6 separate regions of the Homo sapiens genome follow, and regions 2, 3, 4, 5 and 6 are each linked to region 1. Evidence: promoter capture Hi-C in 16 types of primary human blood cells and fetal thymus (Javierre and others, 2016). All regions are on one chromosome and are shown on one strand. The core of a region is centred on a gene start or on the middle of the fragment in contact, and the rest is flanking DNA. Distances in the headings are between cores, read along the strand shown.

Evidence for each region. Contacts are between HindIII fragments. The CHiCAGO score rates a contact against its expected background, and 5 or more counts as called.
Region 2: a contact is called between a fragment that was not itself captured here and the fragment with the promoter of TMEM94 in region 1, in 1 of 17 cell types (endothelial precursors). The highest score is 5.1, in endothelial precursors.
Region 3: a fragment that was not itself captured here is called in contact with the fragment with the promoter of TMEM94 in region 1 in 1 of 17 cell types (endothelial precursors); the score reaches 5.9 in endothelial precursors.
Region 4: a contact is called between a fragment that was not itself captured here and the fragment with the promoter of TMEM94 in region 1, in 2 of 17 cell types (M1 macrophages and endothelial precursors). The highest score is 6.1, in M1 macrophages.
Region 5: the fragment with the promoter of SMIM5 here is called in contact with the fragment with the promoter of TMEM94 in region 1 in 2 of 17 cell types (erythroblasts and endothelial precursors); the score reaches 8.4 in erythroblasts.
Region 6: a fragment that was not itself captured here is called in contact with the fragment with the promoter of TMEM94 in region 1 in 4 of 17 cell types (megakaryocytes, endothelial precursors, M1 macrophages and 1 more); the score reaches 6.3 in megakaryocytes.

Annotation. Positions count from the first base shown.
Region 1 is chr17:75,455,074-75,458,018 of GRCh38, reverse strand. TMEM94 (transmembrane protein 94) reads right to left here and starts at 1,384. Exons shown (of 32, transcript NM_014738.6): 1 at 1,268-1,384. RefSeq lists a silencer at 1,328-1,487 and an enhancer at 1,638-1,687. The HindIII fragment of the contact is 5,875 bases long and covers 1-2,945 here.
Region 2 is chr17:75,209,048-75,211,992 of GRCh38, reverse strand. NUP85 (nucleoporin 85) reads right to left here. Exons shown (of 19, transcript NM_024844.5): 3 at 2,008-2,170; 4 at 1. Among named protein-coding and RNA genes, the nearest start is that of NUP85, 4.8 kb to the right of the region's middle. The HindIII fragment of the contact is 426 bases long and covers 1,370-1,795 here.
Region 3 is chr17:75,678,713-75,681,657 of GRCh38, reverse strand. All of the region lies in intron 3 of SAP30BP (SAP30 binding protein), which reads right to left. Among named protein-coding and RNA genes, the nearest start is that of SAP30BP-AS1, 4.6 kb to the left of the region's middle. The HindIII fragment of the contact is 787 bases long and covers 1,172-1,958 here.
Region 4 is chr17:75,650,375-75,653,319 of GRCh38, reverse strand. RECQL5 (RecQ like helicase 5) reads left to right here. Exons shown (of 20, transcript NM_004259.7): 8 at 2,055-2,134. It overlaps LOC107985013 (a long non-coding RNA gene), which reads right to left and starts at 2,684. Exons shown (of 3, transcript XR_001753017.1): 1 at 2,549-2,684. The HindIII fragment of the contact is 186 bases long and covers 1,389-1,574 here.
Region 5 is chr17:75,631,954-75,634,898 of GRCh38, reverse strand. It overlaps SMIM5 (small integral membrane protein 5), which reads right to left and starts at 1,465. Exons shown (of 3, transcript NM_001162995.3): 1 at 697-1,465. The region is part of intron 8 of RECQL5 (RecQ like helicase 5); the gene reads left to right. RefSeq lists enhancers at 1,033-1,712, 1,713-2,393. The HindIII fragment of the contact is 11,256 bases long and covers 1-2,945 here.
Region 6 is chr17:75,591,777-75,594,721 of GRCh38, reverse strand. It overlaps MYO15B (myosin XVB), which reads right to left. Exons shown (of 64, transcript NM_001395058.1): 6 at 2,642-2,745; 7 at 2,421-2,484; 8 at 2,181-2,294; 9 at 1,882-2,043; 10 at 134-247; 11 at 1-21. Among named protein-coding and RNA genes, the nearest start is that of MYO15B, 5.4 kb to the right of the region's middle. The HindIII fragment of the contact is 5,609 bases long and covers 1-2,945 here.

The sequences.
Region 1 (2,945 bases), core at 135-2,634:
CTTAAAATTACTGAATGCAAACCAGGTATGAAGACCCTAGTCATTGCCAGGAAGCATAGGAGGATCCTACTTTTAATGCCCATCGCTTTTAATGCCCAGAGCCACCCTGCAAGAGCTCAGGGGAGTCAGGGAACTTGATCTCCTCAGGTCACACCTAGGAAACAACTAGGTCTAGCGGATAAAGAACTCAAGCCCCTGGACTTTCGGATTCTAGTTTGGCTCTAGGTGACCCTGGCCTTGCCTCTCCGAACAATCTCCACATCTGCAAAATGAAAATGTTAAAACTGCCCCCTCCCTGCTTCCATCTTCCAAGATTACCTGCGGAATAACAACTATGTCACTAAAGCTGAGCGTCTTGGATAAATCATGAGAAAAAGATCCTTCTCTCCAATGCATACACCCACATAGCAGAAGGAAAACAGATTCCATAACGAGCTCCCTCCTTTTTTCCCTCAAGAGCCACCGAAAAACTCAGGAGAGAGGGTGGGATGTAGCAGCACGTGACCAAGGCAACGCCAAAGTTTAGCCCGCGGTGACACACCAATGAAAGAGCGGGGCTTTGCTTGCATCTGGCGCTGGGCAGCGGGCAGGGGCCGCATCGTGGCATGCTAGGAACCAGGAGACCTGGGCTCCAGGGGTGTGCGGTACAGGAACGAGGGCATTCCACAGGAGTCACTTTATCCGATGGCATGGATGGTGAGCTTCCGAGGAGCCTGAAAACGCTTCTGGAAAGGCGGAAAGAAAAAAAAGCCCGCTCCAAACTGCAAGATCAGGGATGGCTGCCAGGAGCCCCTCGGCCGGCTCCATCCAGCTGGGGACGGCCGCGCGAGGACCCCGGGCGGCTGCGGAGAGCGCGCGCAGGCGGGACAACGGTCTTTATTTAGGTCGGGGATGAGGACTCCCAGGGGCCTCGAAATAAATACTCAGGGCGTCGGCGTTGGGAGCCCTCTGGGCCAGGGCCTAGGCACGACAGACCTGGGGCAGGGATTCTTTGTTGGCGAGAGGCTTTATTTCTGGCGAGAGACCCCACAATGGACCAATCCAGGGCTGAGAGCAAGAGTCTGAAGACTCGGGGGAAGGCAATGGTCAAGAGCTGGAGACTAGAGCCAGTCCCTGGACTCCCCCTCAGGAGGCATCCCCTTAAGCCGTTCTCTGGGTGCAGACCCCAGACTCCCCTTTCCTTGGCCAAGAATCCAAAGGACGCGCAAGGCCGAGCCCCACGCCCCCTTGCTCCCCACTTTCGGGCCACGGGCCTTCTCGTACTTACCGGGGCCCCGGGGCTGGTCTTCCTCGCCCGCGTCCTCTCCCCTCCCAACCCCCTCCTCACTTCACGTCCCCTCCTCCGGGGGCCGCAGCCATGTCCGTTACTGGCAACTCTAAGGGGGCTTGCCTCCCTTCCGGGCAACAGAGGCGCCGGCCAGAGAGCTAAAGTTCAGGCCACCGATTGGTCAGGATTTGAGAATAGGGGGAATTCTGGCTTCTTATTGGCTACGCGGCGTGCTAGGCTGTAGCTGCAACCGCCCCTCTGGGAGCCTGGCGGAATTAGGTGCCGAGTGATGCGGCCGGGAGAGTGAAGAGCCACTGTCCTTTCCTGTGCGTAAAGCTCAGGCAGTTTCTAGTCCAGAAACCCTGACCAGAGGGCATGGCTTTACCTCCGATTCGTTTTCCTACAGAATTATTCTAAAAAGATAGACGGCGCGCCCCACCTTTTTTCCCTTTCTTTTTAAAATAAGCCCTTTGCAGAGCTCCCCGCCTCTCTTAAGTTCTTCTAAGCTCCCTCCTTGTTGCCTTGAACAAATGCCTAGAGGCTGCCCGCTCCGAGAGGCCTTGGAGGGACTCCCTCAGGACGAATATTGCGTCCAAACCAAATCTAGAAAATCTAAGGCAATACTGCAATTCCCCCCTCCCGCTTCCAGCTCGGCTGAAATCTAAAGGGAAAAACAAGTTAAATTTTTTTTCTAGGTAATTAGATAAATCGCCTGGGAGACCTCTCTTGGGAAAACAAAGCAAGCCTGTGTCAGTATTTACTTCTCTTTTCCCAGAGATCTAAGTCTGGAAGGCTTGTTTAAAAAAAACAAAAACAAAAAAACAAACAAAAACTTGTTTATATAATTGGGAAAGAGCTGAGGTTGGCCTTGTGAAGTAAGAGCCCCTTCCCACATTCATGAGTTTAATTACGTAATTAAAATCCCTTTCTCAGCTGGACAAGAAGATGGCATTTTAGTACCTAATCTTGTATGACCCAGTTTAGCTGTTGCCTAAAACGCCATAAGAATCATGTCACTAACCTGCACACAAAAACTGATAGTTCACCTTTGCAAATAGGTCCAAATCTTTCTGCCTGATGTTCAAAGTCCTTCATAAATTGACTCAGACATACGTTTCCAGGTCTAAGTCCCCACAGGCTAAACTATTCCTGCAGCCACATAGATTAACCACCATTCTTTAAACGTGACAGAGACCTTTCCACCTCTGCTCCTTCGTCACATGGTTGGTTCCCTACGCTTTGCTTTAAAGGTTCTTTTTTTCTTTTTTTTTTTGAGACGGAGTTTCGCTCTTGTCGCCTAGGCTGGAGGGCAATGGCTTGATCTCGGCTCACTGCAACCTTCACCTCCCGGGTTCAAGTGATTCTCTTGCCACGGCCTCCGGAGTAGCTGGGATTACAGGTGCCTGCCACCATACCCAGCTAATTTTTGTATTTTTAGTAGAGACAGGGTTTGAACATGTTGGCCAGGCTGGTCTCAAACTCCTGAGCTCAGGTGATCCACCTGCCTCGGCCTGCCAAAGTGCTGTGATTACAGGCGTGAGCCACCGCACCCAGCCTGACGGTTCTTTCTTATCAGTAAAGCCAGCATGCAAATAAATACTTAATCAACCTAAAGGCCCACCTCAAATGCTACCTTTCTTGACTTTTATTTTTTCTTGTATGTATGTACATATTTATT
Region 2 (2,945 bases), core at 333-2,832, 250 kb after region 1:
TCTACAAAAAATGAAATAACACACAAGATGAGCCTGGAACATCTTGTAGTGCCACAAAGGAAGGAAACACTCAAATAAATGCAGAAATTTGCTGAAAGAAAGAGGAGAGCCGTTGTGAAGGAGCTCCTAACCTTCTGAAGCTGGAACAACTTGGACAACAAAATAAAACGCCACAAAACAACCCATGGGCTAAAGTTAATATCCACAAACCCATACTGCCATTAATTGTTGCAGATGAAATCTACTGGTCAGACCTTGTCTCAAAAAAATAAAAAAGATACATAAATGTATTTACTGGCCAGGCCCGGTGGCTCAGGCGTGTAATCCCAGCACTTTGGGAGGTGAAAGTGGGCAGATCACCTGAGGTCAGGTGTTTGAGACCAGCCTGGCCAACCTGGTGAAACCCTGTCTCTACTAAAAATACAAAAATCCCAGCTACTCAGGAGGCTGAGGCAGGAGAATCTCTTGAACCCGGCAGGCGGAGGTTGCAGTGAGCCAAGATCATGCCATTGCACTCCAGCCTGGGCGACAGAGTGAGACTCCATCTGAAAAAAAAAAAAAAAGAATAAGACAGGGTCCCCTGCCAGCAAGGAATTACAGGACTTTTGACATGTTTTTTTCCTAGAAGTGACAATAGATTTCTCAAACTCACCAATATTCTCCACTAGAGTCCCTTAAATCCAATAATCAGGCCAGGTGCAGTGGCTCACTCCTATAATCCCAGCACTTTGGGACGCTGAGGTGGGCAGATCACTTGAGGTCAGGAGTTCAAGACCAGCCCAGCCAAAATGATGAAACCCCATCTCTACTAAAAATGCAAAAATTAGCCAGGCGTGGTGGCACGCACCTGTAATCCCAGCTACTCAGGAGGCTGAGGCAGGAGAATGGCTTCAACCCAGGAGGCAGAGGCTGCAGTGGGCCAAGATTGCGCCACTGCACTCCAGCCTGGGTGACAGAGTGAAACTCTGTCTCAAAAAAAAAAAAAAAAACAGGGCCAGGCACAGTGGCTCACGTCTGTAATCCCAGCACTTTGGGAGGCCGAAGCAGGTGGATCACGAGGTCACGAGATCGAGACCATCCTGGCTAACACGGTGAAACCCCGTCTCTACTAAAAATACAAAAAATTAGCCGGATGTGGTGGCAGGCGCCTGTAGTCCCAGCTACTCGGGAGGCTGAGGCAGGAGAATGGCGTGAATCCAGGAGGCAGAGCTTACAGTGAGCGGAGAACGCGTCACTGCACTCCAGCCTGGGTGACAGAGCGAAACTCTGCCTCGAAAAAAAACAGAAAAACAACCAATAATCACTCTTGCACACACTCACACAGAAGCTGACCTGAGTCTTGTCCAGAATGATTCATTTGTGAAAAGCTTATCAAAGAAGTAACATACCAACACTGCCCATTCCCTAGCCATCCATGTGAAGGGACGCTGACAAAAATCTAACACAGGAGTTCTTAAACTTCAGTGTGCTGGAGATTTTAAGATCCAACCACGGAGATTTTGATTTTGATGATCTGAGGTGGGTCCCAAAAGTCTACAATTAACAAGTACCACTCTGATAATGATGAAGTTATGAACTACAATTCAAGAAAATCCTAATCTATAAATAGTACGAGAGTTTTCTGGTCTGTTGTCAAATAACGTCTGAACCATAATTTTTTAGAGACAAAACTGTTAGGTTTATATTAATTTTCAAATCTCCCAACAATGTGACCTCATTCAACGACTCTCACATGCTTGTGTGGCCTAAATTTTCTTCTTTAGAGGCTAAGTAAAATATGAATATAAATAAAGCTTGTCAAGCCAGCCCATCAATAGCATTTGCATATTCCCGCTAAGTCTTCCCATCACTGCTAATGTACACTGTCCAGTACTCATGCCTCAACTAGAACCAGGAGTCTCTTATTTCTTTACGCAACCCATAAAACACACAAAAAGACAACAATGTACTTCATTTGGCTTTCCACAGTGTAGTGTGGGCTTCAACACCAAACAGCAACCAACTTACTGAGATTTTCTGGATTTTCCAGTCAACTCTTCGTCAATTCTCTGGAGGCCCAGAAAGATTCCATGGGATTCATTGAAGAGTTTTCTCAAGATTTGAGAGTAAACATCTACATCCTTACGGATGATATAGATAAAGGGGCAACTTGGCACCATCTCTGATTTTTCTGAAACCAAACAGAAAAAAAAAATTTAACATCTATTATGATCATCTCCAAAAGTGAATCTACTCTAAAAAAATTTTCTGTGGCCGGGCATGGTGGCTCTTGCCTATAATCCCAGCACTTTGGGAGGCCAAGGCAGGCAGATCACGAGGTCAGGAATTCGAGACCAGGCTGGCCAACATAGCAAAACCCTGTCTCTACTAAAAATACAAAAATTAGCTGGGCGTGGTGGCACATGCCTTCATTCCCAGCTACTCAGGAGACTGAGGCAGGAGAATTGCTTCAAACCGGGAGGCGGAGGTGGCAGTGAGCCGAGATCACACCACTGCATTCCAGCCTGGACAGAGCGAGACTCCGTCTCAAAAAAAAAAAAAAAAAAAGAAAGCAAATCAAATGTCAAGATTCCAGTTTTATCCTTCTACTGGAAGGAGACTGTATCACTGTATCAGGAAAAGAAAAAGATTCACATCCTATCCAATAGCTGATGGAACTCAGGAAAATCAAGCCAAGGACAAGCTATGTCACTCTCCAGCTCCATCTGTGCCTTGGATGCTACGGCTCAGCTCAGCCTACAGAACTATTATTCAGCTGAATCCATGCTGTGGACACAAAAGTGACGGCCAAGCATCTGCAAGGTTCACAATAAGGGAGCTACTGATAGGAATTTGGTCACTTTGGACAAAGAAAAAGGGATAAAAAGCTTGACATTTTAAATATGAAGAAAATTTTTCATGAAAACTATTAATTTTTTTCCGGGATTCAACATCTTCAAGATCTC
Region 3 (2,945 bases), core at 316-2,815, 220 kb before region 1:
CAGTGCTGCCTGCATGCAATTGCTGGCAGGCTCCTCAAAGTTCTTCCTATAATCAGCAGTCAACAACAAATTCCTGGGAGATTAGCCCCTTAGGCAGTTTTCAGATATTTGATTCTGGTACTTCAAAAGATCAGGAGTAATGCAAGGACAGTGGGAAGGAGTTGAGAGGAGAGTGGGTGAGGGAATTACCGAGTCAGCTCTGCCCAATACAAATCCTCATCTAGACTGTGAGTCAGTAACTCCCGTCAACTGGGAGACCTGGTCTTCTTCAGGATGGGTATGAATAGCCACTGAGGCAGAGAACCACTCACCCGGCTGGGCCTCCAGAGGAGGCTAAGTGAGGACTTGTCAAGGCCCCCACTCTGGAACTCTTAAGACAATCTACTGCCACAGTTCCCAGACTACTACCTGGGGTAACCCAGCAAACTCACAAAGGTGCCACAGGATATTTAACAAAACTGTTACAGGAAACACAGCCTTACTCCACATGTCACATACCACACACACTTACACATATTATTTTTTTAAGCAGCTACTGAATTGTGAGGACAGTAATACTTAGTGTCTGAAGCTAATGACATAAGAAACAGAACCATTCGTTAGGCATTTTTTCTTCTTTTTTTCAGACAGGGTCTTGGTTTGCTGCCCAGGCTGGAGTGCAGTGGTACAGATCTCGGCTCACAGCAACCTCTGCCTCCCAGGATCAAATGATCCTCCCATCTCAGCCTCCCAAGTACCTGGGACTACAGGCACACACTACCATGCCTGGCTAACTTTTGTAGTTTCTGTAGAGACGGGTTTCACCATGTTGCCCAGGCTGGTCTCAAACTCCTGTGCTCAAGCAATTCTCCTGCCTCGGGCATCCCCAAGTGCTGGGATTACAGGCTTGAGCTACCACACTCAGCCATTAGGCATTTCTTTTTGTTCCAGAGGTCTGTGAAAAACTATGGAGACATGAAGGGCAGTGAGCCGAGAAATCGTGGCGCCTTCTAACCTACAGGATAAGGGCGTATAATCAGACTTAGTTACACTGAAAAGGCCAAGCACTGCTAACAAGTGCATTGTATACTGCGAAAAGCACCTTCATGTACATTCTCTCACGCCGCAGTCACAACCACCTTGCAAAGGGGGTCTCACGGCCCTGACTGCCCAAATGGAGCCGAGTGAAGCTTAAGTTACAGGCCTGTGGTTCCACAGCCAGAGGGAAGCCAGGCCAGGGCACAACCCAGGTCTTCGGACCACAAGTCCACCAGACCGGCTCTAAATTGTTTGTGAGCTCCACATTTTAGTACTACTTTAGGGATCTTAGAATTTTAAAAATGTCTTCTCTTAACTGGGGTTATACACGCCTTTTTAAAAAATGCCAGAACAATTCCCCCCAACCCCCACCTGATGCCACCTCCTTGACCCAGAAGACGGAATTTTGTTTTCACAGATGTACACTCCTGGGCTGGGAGGATTCTTTTCCTAGATCAGAGCGTGAGATCTAGATCTTTTCCTAGATCAGCACCTCAGGGAGGCCGGCGATCCCAGTCCCTCCCAGTCAGCTGGCAATAGGCTGCTCCATCTTTCTTGCTCCAGGCTCTCAACCCCCATGTTTGTTTTCAAAGGAAGGGTGTGTCAGGGACAGTGAGTGAATGGAAACAGCTTCATCCACAGGAACTGTAGGAGTGGAGAAAAAAATAAACAAGGGAAACCGTCCAGAGCAAACGAGGTAAAAATGGACAAAGGAGAGTGGCGAAAGGGATGTTCGGGTGCCAAAGGTAAACAGGGGGAGGAAGCACTTCAGCCACCAGGCACTCCTTTCCCGGAGTGAGGTGCTGGCCCCAGGACTGTCACGTCTGCTCTTTTTCCAGAACAGCAGTGCCACCTCCTGTTAATTTGCTGCTTACCGAAGAGACAAGATCAGAAACTTGAAGTTAGAGACGAAAAAATAATGGAACACAGGAAACAAAGCTTGTTTCCTATGCAACGCCCAGCCTCCTTCTCCAATCTCCTGTTCGCTAGTTTGGGGCAAACTCAGCACCTGCAGAGCCCAATCCCTGCTGCCCCAACCTAAAGGACAGGACCAAGTCTCTCTGCCCAGGTGGGCCAGAGTTAGTTCTTACTCACGCTCCCAAACATGGGACTCTGTGCTCACAGGTAACCCCAAACATCAGAGCAATAAAAACCAGGGCAATTCCAGTCTGTGCATATTTTAAAGTCATCAGATAACAAAGTTAGAGAATACTCAACTTTGCTTATGTATAATGCCCAAGTCCTTTCCTAGGGGGTTCCCAGGGAACTCCCTGGAGTTTAATCCAACCTCTACCAACAGATTTTATGATGTTGATGACAAGTCGTTTCTTACAACTTGCCTGAAGGCCGGGCATGGTGGTTCACACCTGTAATCCCAGCACTTTGGGAGGCCGAGGCAGGCAGATCACGAGGTCAGGAGATCGAGACCATCCTGGCTAACATGGTGAAACCCTGTCTCTACTAAAAATACAAAAAATTAGCCAGGTGTGGTGGCGGGCGCCTGTAGTCCCAGGTACTACTCGGGAGGCTGAGGCAGGAGAATGGCGTGAACCTGGGAGGCGGAGCTTGCAGTGAGCTGAGATGGAGCCACTGCACTCCAGCCTGGGCGACAGAACGAGACTCCGTCTCAAAAAAAAAAAAAAAAAAAACTTGCCTGAAAAACCTCTAGAAACAGGGAGCTCACTACCTTATGAAACAGCTCAACCCACTTGTGGCCGGAGATCACAAAAGGTCCTTCGTTATATGAAGGTAAACTTCTGTGGAATTCTGCGCGCGGCTTCAGGTCTGCCTCAGGCTGCCTTAGCCTTTCCCTCAGCAGACCTTCAAACACCAGAGCGCAACCCCGGCTCTTCCCGAGTCTTCTGTCTTCCAGCTCTACCTTTCCCTCAGGTGATGTGCTTTTGAGTCCCCTCACCTTTATGACTGCT
Region 4 (2,945 bases), core at 232-2,731, 200 kb before region 1:
GTCCACATTTGAAATGTATAGTGCCCATTCCTTACCTAATAGTGGTTCCTGGCCCAAGGTGAGCCTGTACTTTGAATTGGATAAGGGTGCAGAGGTCTTCCTGGTGGGAAGGCCTGGAGCTGTTGTTGCTCAGCTGTGGGGACCACCTGCTATTGCCCTACTCCCCTCTAGTGGGAGCCAAAGGGAAGGCTGGCTGATGAGTGTCTGCGGATTGAGGATGTGGCAGGGACTGGTGCCCCCACCTCCCTCCGCCCCACCACCAAAGATGGGGCTCTGCCTGCTGTGTGCCTGTCACCAGCAACCGGCAGTCATGCCTTGGGTTTCCCAGGTGGAGAGGTGGCAGGCAACATTTTAAAAAGAAAACAGGAAACTATATTGTGTGGGGGAGGCAGGAGTGGAGATGAGAAAACAGTTTGGATTTTGTGAGAGGGGCTTTGGGGGAGTTTGGTAGTTGTTGGTAACTTAAGTGCTTTTTCTTCCTTTTAAGTTAGTTGCAGGCTTTGGTTTGGAAAGCCCCAGGGAAGTGGGGTGGGGGACAGAAACCTGAGGCTCTTGCCCCTTTATCTGCCTTCACAGTACCATCTCCTTCCCCCAGCTTTACCCTGCGCTCAGGAGCCAGGCCTCAGCGCTTCCTGCTATCCACTTCCCATAAGCCACTCCTCTGATATTAGTCCATAGCCAAAGGAGCTGTGGGTCCAGGCCTGGTGACCAGCCCAGCTCAGCCCGCTCATTCAGGGTGCTCCCTACCTGCAGGCAGGAGGCAACACCCTGTCTGCTACCATTAGCACCTTCCAGAGCCCACCTCCCCTGCCCAGCCGTACCCTGCTCTGCCCCATCTGGGATGCTGTGCTCAGGCATGAGCTGGCAGGGCCGCACACAGCCTCCCTGGTAAGTAGAGACTCAGGAAACCTTTGGGGTCCTCCTGTTTTCTGGTTGTGTGATCCAAGTGGTGCACACTGGCCCCTTGGGTGCCAACTGAAGGGCTTGGGAATCTTGCTCTCCTGGTGTAGCTGGCAGCTGCCCACCCCCACCCCACATGGGTTTCTGAGTCGGCAGGTCAAGCATTATTTTATTTTATTTTATTATTTTATTTGAGATGGAGTCTTGCTCTGTTGCCCAGGCTGGAGTGCAGTGCCACGATCTCAGCTCACTGCAGCCTCTGCCTCCCGGGTTCAAGTGATTCTCCTGCCTCAGCCTCCTGAGTACCTGGGATCACAGACATGCACCACCATGCCTGGCTAATTTTTGTATTTTTAGTAGAGATGGAGTTTCAACATGTTGGCAAGGCCGGTCTCGAACTCTTGACCCCAGGTGATCCGCCCACCTCAGTCTCCCAAAGTGCTGGGATTACAGGTTTTAAATTGTATTTTAAATTCATGTTTTAAGCTTATCAAGAAGAGTCACTTAACCTTTTAATATATCTCCCTCCAATATACACAGAAGTATATGTGTTCATATTTGTTAAGTTCACAACATTTGTGCGTGTATTTACTATTATTAAAATAGGTGATATTATATAGCGCTTCCTAAATGCCAGTCTGTGGGCCCTTTGCATGAGAACCTCCTGAGAAGCTTTTCGGAAACTCTCAAAAGCTCATCCCAGAAAATTCAGTTCAGTAGTCTGGGGGTTATGATACATAGTCAGGTTTGGGGACACTTTTGTAAATGGCTTTATTACTGTCATTTAATATTTTTCTCCCTTGTTACTTTTTTTTGTTTTTGAGACGGAGTGCAGTGGCATGATCTCAGCTTGCTGAAACCTCCACCTCCTGGGTTCAAGTGATTCTTCTGCCTCAGTCTCCCAAGTAGCTGGGACTACAGGCATGCGCTGCCACACCTGGCTAATTTTTTTGTATTTTTAGTAGAGACAGGGTTTCACCATGTAGGTCAGGCTGGTCTCGAACTCCTGACCTCAAATGATCCTCCTGGCTCAGCCTCCCAAAGTGCTGGGATTACAGCCGTGAGCCACCGCACTCGGCCTCCTCATTACTTTTTGTGGCTCTAAGGTAGTCCAATTCTATAAGACTTGCTAAGTGGTCATTTTTTGTCCCCAGGAAAAGAGAGGAAACAAAGCATCTGATAAAGCCACTATCATGGCCTTTGATGCCCTGGTGACCTTCTGTGAAGAACTGGGGTAAGTGACTTATTTTATATGTGGAGCAAAGTGTCAGTGAGATCATTTACTTCCCCGGCACGCCCTAGTTAAGCAGCTGACATAAGACAGCCCGTAGGCTACCAAGGGACACCTGCCTGCAAAGGCTGTTGTGTCGGGCAGTGTGGAAGTCAGGACCTTGCTCTTCTCTATTGGAGGCCCCGGGATCTCTCGCAGTGTGGGGATTTGCTCAGTATTCTGAGTGGTGTCCTTCCCTCCACTCCACCCTCTTCTGGGATGGCTGGCCCCACAAGCCACTCAGTTCCAAGGGATGTGACCAGCTCTGAGCCATCGGCTTTGTGGTCATCATGTGCCACCGAGCTGGGACTTCTGGCATCACTTGAGTAGTCCTCACCCTTATCCAGGACCCACACAGAAGCCTGTGGCCCCACTTACCTCGGGGAGTCATGTGCTTTGAACTCACGCATCTGTTTTACCTGCATCTGCAGGCGATGGGGCAGGGGCCACGGAAAGAGTCTGAGGGCTGCTTGGTGTAGTCAGGTTGTGTCCAGGCATGCGGAGCTGTGAGTGCCTGCAGGAGAGACACCCAGGAGGAGTTTTTACATTTTGGTCTAAAAAGCTCTTGGATTCATCTCATCTCATGGAATGATCCTGTCGGATGACGCTGACGTGATTGCTTCAGACTTAGAGGTGAATAAATTGAGGTCCAGAGAGGTCACAGTCACGAAGCTCATGGTAGACTGAGGCCACTAAACACCCGTCTCCTGATTTTCAGTGGCGTCCTCATTTGCATACACCTGGGCCATCTTGGTTTTTGCAAGAAAAAAGCGAG
Region 5 (2,945 bases), core at 216-2,715, 180 kb before region 1:
CCGGTTGCCAGCGTGGTCCCTCCCAGCCTCACTTCTGTGACCTTCTGCCCACCTGAGCCTGAGTTGAAAGTCAGTCCTCCAGGTTCCTGGTTTGGTGTTCAAGGCTCATCACCAGAGGGAGATCTAGGAGTTTATGGGGTTCTAGATGGGCCCAGGGAGGAGGACCCAGGCTGAGCCGTGAGCTGAGAACACCAGCAGTGAGTGGGCCAAGCCCCTGAAAGGACACAGATGGGCAGAGTCCTGCTGCATCCTGGGGGCGCCGCATGCTGGCTGGGCAGACCCTGCGCTGACCTCGACAGGGCTCTGCCCTAATCCTGGGAAAAAGGGAGGCTCAGCAGGCCGGCAGCCATTCTCTCCCAAGCTGGACAGCCAAATCCCTCTTTTAAGCCCCCTGAATAAAAGAGCTGAAATGAACTTGCAGAATAAGCAGGCCCTCGGGGCCCCTCTGCTGCACAGCAGGCGGAGCAGGAGGCGCTCTGAGCAGAGCCCCCAGCCCTCCCCTAGTGCAGGGTCCCAGCAGCAGGGAGAGTGCAGGTGTGTGCAGGAGGCTGGCTGACTTCCCTGCAGGGAAGCGACCCAGCATGTCCCCGAAGACCTCTCCGTGTTTATGGTAGACTGTGGCCCTTCACCCTGGGGGCAGGGGACCCTTGCTGCTCCCTCCCTGTCCCCCCTTCTTCTGTGGCCATTGCCACTCACCTGGGAGCTCAGGTGTTGGGGGCTGAGCAGCAGTGCCCCAGCGCGGAGCCTCCACGTGCTGTCCTCGTACTTCCTTCGTGGGCGCCGCTGCTCCCCTGGGCGCCTCAGCCCAGCTCCTCTGCTGACAGCCAGCTGCTGTCTCTGCCTGGCTTTTTTGTTGTTGGTCGTCCTGGAGATCCAAGTGTCAAATTACCGTCGCGAGGGGGAGCCCGAGGAAGCCCTGCTTGGGAACTTGTCCTCCAACTTCATGTCCCGGTGCCTCACCTCTGCCCTGAGAGCGCTGCTCAGGGACAAGACAAGCTCCCTCTCTCCTCCTCCTTCCTCCTCCTCTCCCTCTCCCCGACTCCCACGCCGTGGGCTGGGCCTGGGTTGGGAGCTGAAGAAAGAAGTCGGCTCTCTGCCTTCCTGGCCAGGAGGACCCTGGGGAGGCTCCACCTGAGCCTGTGGAGGGGAGTCCTGCAGCGCTCTCAGGTCTGGGGCACCCACCCTGCCCTCAGGAAGGCCACCCCTTCTGTCCCTCTGGCCACTCCCTGGCTGGTCCCTCCCTCTGGCCTCTCTCAGGAACAACAGTAAACAGTGGGGAGCTGGTGGCCCTCTCAAGCTGAGCAGGAGGCTTTGCAACCAGTCCCTGGGGAGGCCCTTGTGCCGCTCAGCATCTGAAGGCGTCTTGGGGGAGAACTTGGAATCCTGAGTGACCTGGGAGTGGCCTGCGCGCCCGGCAAGGCGCCTCATGTTCCTTGTGAGGTGAGGGCCTTCTGCTGGGGCTGTGACCGCACTCCTGGCCCAGCTGTCAGGGCAGGGCTCCAGAGTCCAGGGGCCGGGCCCTGTGACATTTGCCTGGTTGTGCCTCCCAGCAGGCTAGGCTGTGTGGAGAGAAACCGACCCCAGCCCCGCTGTCAATGGAGCTCTTTGAGTCCGAGCACAAAACCCCAGTGAGTCAGGGCCTGAGGAGGGCAGGGGGAGGAAGCCAGCCATGTGGTCACACCACTCGGATGCCAGAGCCTCCCAGAGGCTGGACAGGCGGCCGCTGTGCGGGCGCACGGACTCCTGGGGATGAACCATTTGTTGCATTTACTCATTGGAGCAGAGTGGGGGCAGGAGCGCCCTCTGGTGGCCGCCTCGGCTGTCCCAGCCCAGGTCAGGCTTCAGAGCTGCATTCACTCAGCTAAAAGAAAGTCAGCCAGGCCCTGCTTCCTTACCGGGGTGTTGCAATCAGCCTTGCATCCTTGAGCCTGCGCCTTGGGGTCGCAGCCCCTCAAAGGGCTTCTTGCAGCCGCAGCAGTGCTCACACTGGGAGGAGTTCTAGTTAGAGCAGTTAATGCCAGCTATTCTTGTCCCTGGGATGTGGCACCCCAGACAGCCCTGCCTGTGTTCCAGCATCTCCTCTTGGGCTTCCCTACCCTGTGCCACGTTCCTGGTGGCAGGAATGGCTGTTTATAAGGAGCCTGAGAGAGCTATGGCCCCTCTTGCGGCCTCTGCAGCTGCCCCAAGGGTCGACAGCCACCCCCATGCAGAGGGAACAGAGATGCGACAGAGCCTCGTGGGCCAGCCAGAGGCTGCTCCCTGCTCCCAGCATGGGCAGAGGCCGCTCACCCCAGGAGGGCTGCAGCAGGGTTGAGACAGAGGAAGACGAGAGGAGGACTCCAGGCGAGGCTGCGTCTCCCTGGCTAAAGGCCCCACCTGTGACACCCTCACGGGTTGATGATGGGACATATTACTACACAGCCGTGCCTGCCTTAGCAATGCAAATACGTTTTGAGAAATTTAACTTGTCATTGTGCGGTCACAGAGTATACTTAGGGAAATCAAACAGCAATTCCAGGGAAGAGAAGGAAAAAAATATCAAGCGGCACAGCCTCCTACACACCCAGGCCATGCGCTACAGCTTGTTGCTCCTAGACCACAAACCTGTACATCACGTTACTGTCCTGAGTACCGTATGCAGTTGTAACACAGTGGTATTCACATATCTAAGCACACATAAGCATAGAAAAAGTACAGTAGAAATACAGTGTTAGAATCGTAGGGGACCACCATTGGCTGTGCAGTCATTCCATGGGGCATGACTGTACTGTAATGCACTTCAGACATCACCTCAGCCATCTTCGCTCAGTCCGTGAGGGCTGTGCCTTTCTGCACCATCTTACTGACGGGAATGCATGGGCTTTAGGAGGTGAAGTGTGTCACCCAAAAGACACCCTTCATGGCAGAGCCAGCATCTACATCCCATTGCCAGAGGACAGAGGGGA
Region 6 (2,945 bases), core at 231-2,730, 140 kb before region 1:
GACCTGGCCATAGGGCGTCTCCTGGAGGGCAGAGGAGGCACAGCTGGTGTGTCAGGCCTGCAGCCCTCATGGTGCTTACTCAGCCTGTGGGTCAGCCAGGCCAGGCCCCTCTCCCCAGGACCCTCGGGCTCACCGTGACCCTCCTGGTGACAGCCCCCTCCAGGCACTCTGGTGGTACCCGCAGCAGTCGGGCTGCTGTGTGGATCTCAGCCCAGCTAGACACAGCAGCCACCTCCTGGGACTCTCGCTACACAGAGAGGGAGGGACAGGGAGATCTCTGCTTCAGGAATGGACACACTCCCCAGGCAGGGCAGGCCGGGCTTTGCCTGGTAAGTGGCCCTGTCACCAAAGGGGAGATATGTCACATGAGGAGATCTGGGCCATTAGGAGCGAGGCTATGGTTTTCAGGGCCCTGAGTTCGAGTCCTACTTTCCCTCTTTGCTGGCGGACAGTTCTGGCCAGGCTCCTTCCTTCCTGCGCCCCACGGCCTCACTGCTAAAGGGGAAGCAGTAACCCTTCCTAGGGGGTTGTCTTGCAAACTAAATTAGAAAACAAATGCAAAGTGATTTACACAGTACCCAGGTACATAACAGCTGCTCGTTTGATTTTTTTTTTTCTTTTTTTTTTTTTTTGAGACAGGGTCTCACTCTGTTACCCAGGCCTGAATGCAGTGGCACGATCAAGGCTCACTGCAGCCTCCACCTCCCAGGATCAGGTAATTCTTCCACCTCAGCCTCCCCAGTAGCTGGGATTACAGGCACATGCCACCATGCCCAGCTAATCTTTTTTTTTTTTTTCTTCTGAGACTGAGTCTCGCTCTTGTTGCTCAGGCTGGAGTGCAATGGCATAGTCTTGGCTCACTGCAACCTCCACCTCCCAGGTTCAAGCAATTCTCCTGTCTCAGCCTCCTAAGTAGCTGGGATTATAGGCATGTGCCACCACACCTGGCTAATTTTGTATTTTTAGTAGAGACGGGGTTTCACCATATTGGTCAGGCTGGTCTCGAACTCCTGACCTCAGGTGATCCGCCCATCTAGGCCTCCCAGTGTGCTGGGATTACAGGCATGAGCCACCACGCCCAGTCTGTTTTGTTTTTTTTTTTTTTTCTGAGACGGAGTCTCGCTCTGTCACCTAGGCTGGATGGAGTACAGTGGCGCAACCTCAGGTCACTGCCACCTCCACCTCCCGGGTTCAAGCAATTCTCCTGCCTCAGCTTCTCTAAGTAGCTGGGATGTGCCACCACATCCAGGCACGTGTCACCACACCCAGCTAATTTTTGTATTTTTAGTAGAGACAGGGTTTCAGCATGTTGGCCAGGCTGGTCTCAAACTCCTGACTTCAAGTGATCTGCTCGCCTTGGCCTAATCTGTTCATATTTTTTGTAGAGACAAGATTTTGCCATGTTGCCCAGGCTGCTCTAGAATTCCTGGGCTCAAGTGATCCACCCACCTCGGCCTCCCAAAGTGCTAGGATTACAGGTGTGAGCCACCACCGCCAACCCTTTTTTTTTTTTTTTTTTTTTTTAATAGAGACGGGGTTTCTCTATGTTGCCTAGGCTGGTCTCAAACTCCTGGCTTCACACGATCCTCCTGCCTCGGCCTCCCAAAGTGCTGGGATCACAGGTGTGACCCACCATGCCTGACCATAGCTGCTCATCTAATGCCAGATGTTCTTAGGGGTGGCAGCTTAGAGGCACAGACATTGGGAGAGTGGAGAAGCTCTATGTCTCAGCTTTCTCATCTACACAGTGGGGATCTACCCACTTTTCAGGGCAGCCCAGCACTCTGTAGTCTCCTACACACCAGCATTTGGCGTCATTACCACTGCCCTGATTCTACAGACCCAGCACCCCAGATGGCCCCTGCCCACGGGGAAGCCCACCTCTGAGGAGGAGAAGCAGATGTTGCCCAGCTGCAGGATGGCGGCCAGCACAGCCCAGACGGCATTCAACTCCTCTGGGCACAAGCCGAGCCCCTGCAGTGCCTTCAGCAGCCCCTCAAAGTCCTGGGCATCCTCCTTGCCTTGCAGCCTGCAGGCCTGGCCCTGCAGAGCACAGCAGGGGTGAGGGAGCGGGGCCTGCCACCCCATAGCCTCCCTCTACTCCGGCTACTCCTCAGACCTCCGGGCCGAGATCCTCCTCTGGGCAGGCCTCCCCGCCGCACCACAAGGGCTCCCCCGACCTGGTTGAGGTAGTAGTAAGTCTCCGGTCCCTGCAGGGAGAGCCGCTCCCGCTCTATGGAGTCCAGCCCTGCCAGCAGCTTGTAAAAAACATGGAAGCTCCGCTCAGCCTGGGCCTTGGGGACAGGACTGGCTTAGGGGCTCAGTGCCCTAGGGGCTTAGAGGCCACACCCCGACAGTGACACCCTCTGCCCTTCCTACTCTGGGAACTGGGCAGGGGTGGATAGAAGGGCTGCCTTTACCTGAAACACCACCCTGGAGGTCTCAAGTAGATAATGAGACACAGAGGCTCCCACGATGACCCCTCTGTGGGCACAGAAGATGGGTGTGAGTGCCCAGGATGCAGAACACCCAGGGGCCCCGTGCAGAAGAAGCCCTACCAGGGTCTGGACCCCAGGGAAGCAGCCCAAGGACCCAGGAAGGGTAAGTGATTGTAGGTGCCCCCTGCAACCCTGCCACTCACTGCTGTAGGTAGAGGCAGAAGACCTGGCCGAAGCGGCTGGCATTGGCATTGAGGATGGTCTTGGCATGGCCAAAGCTGCTGAGTATAGGCAGCATATCCTCCACCTGTACAGGGAGGGGTGTTCAAGCATCCCTGGGCAGCAGTAGCCCCCACCAGCAGGCATCCCAGCTAGGGGCAGGTCCAGGGAGGCGTCAGTCCCATCAGAAAGGGCAGTGCCTGCAGCTGACCCCAGGAGACGCCAGAGGCCTGGAGACCACCCCTCTCCTGGCTGAAAGGAGAAAGATAGTCCCTTGGACATGGTCAG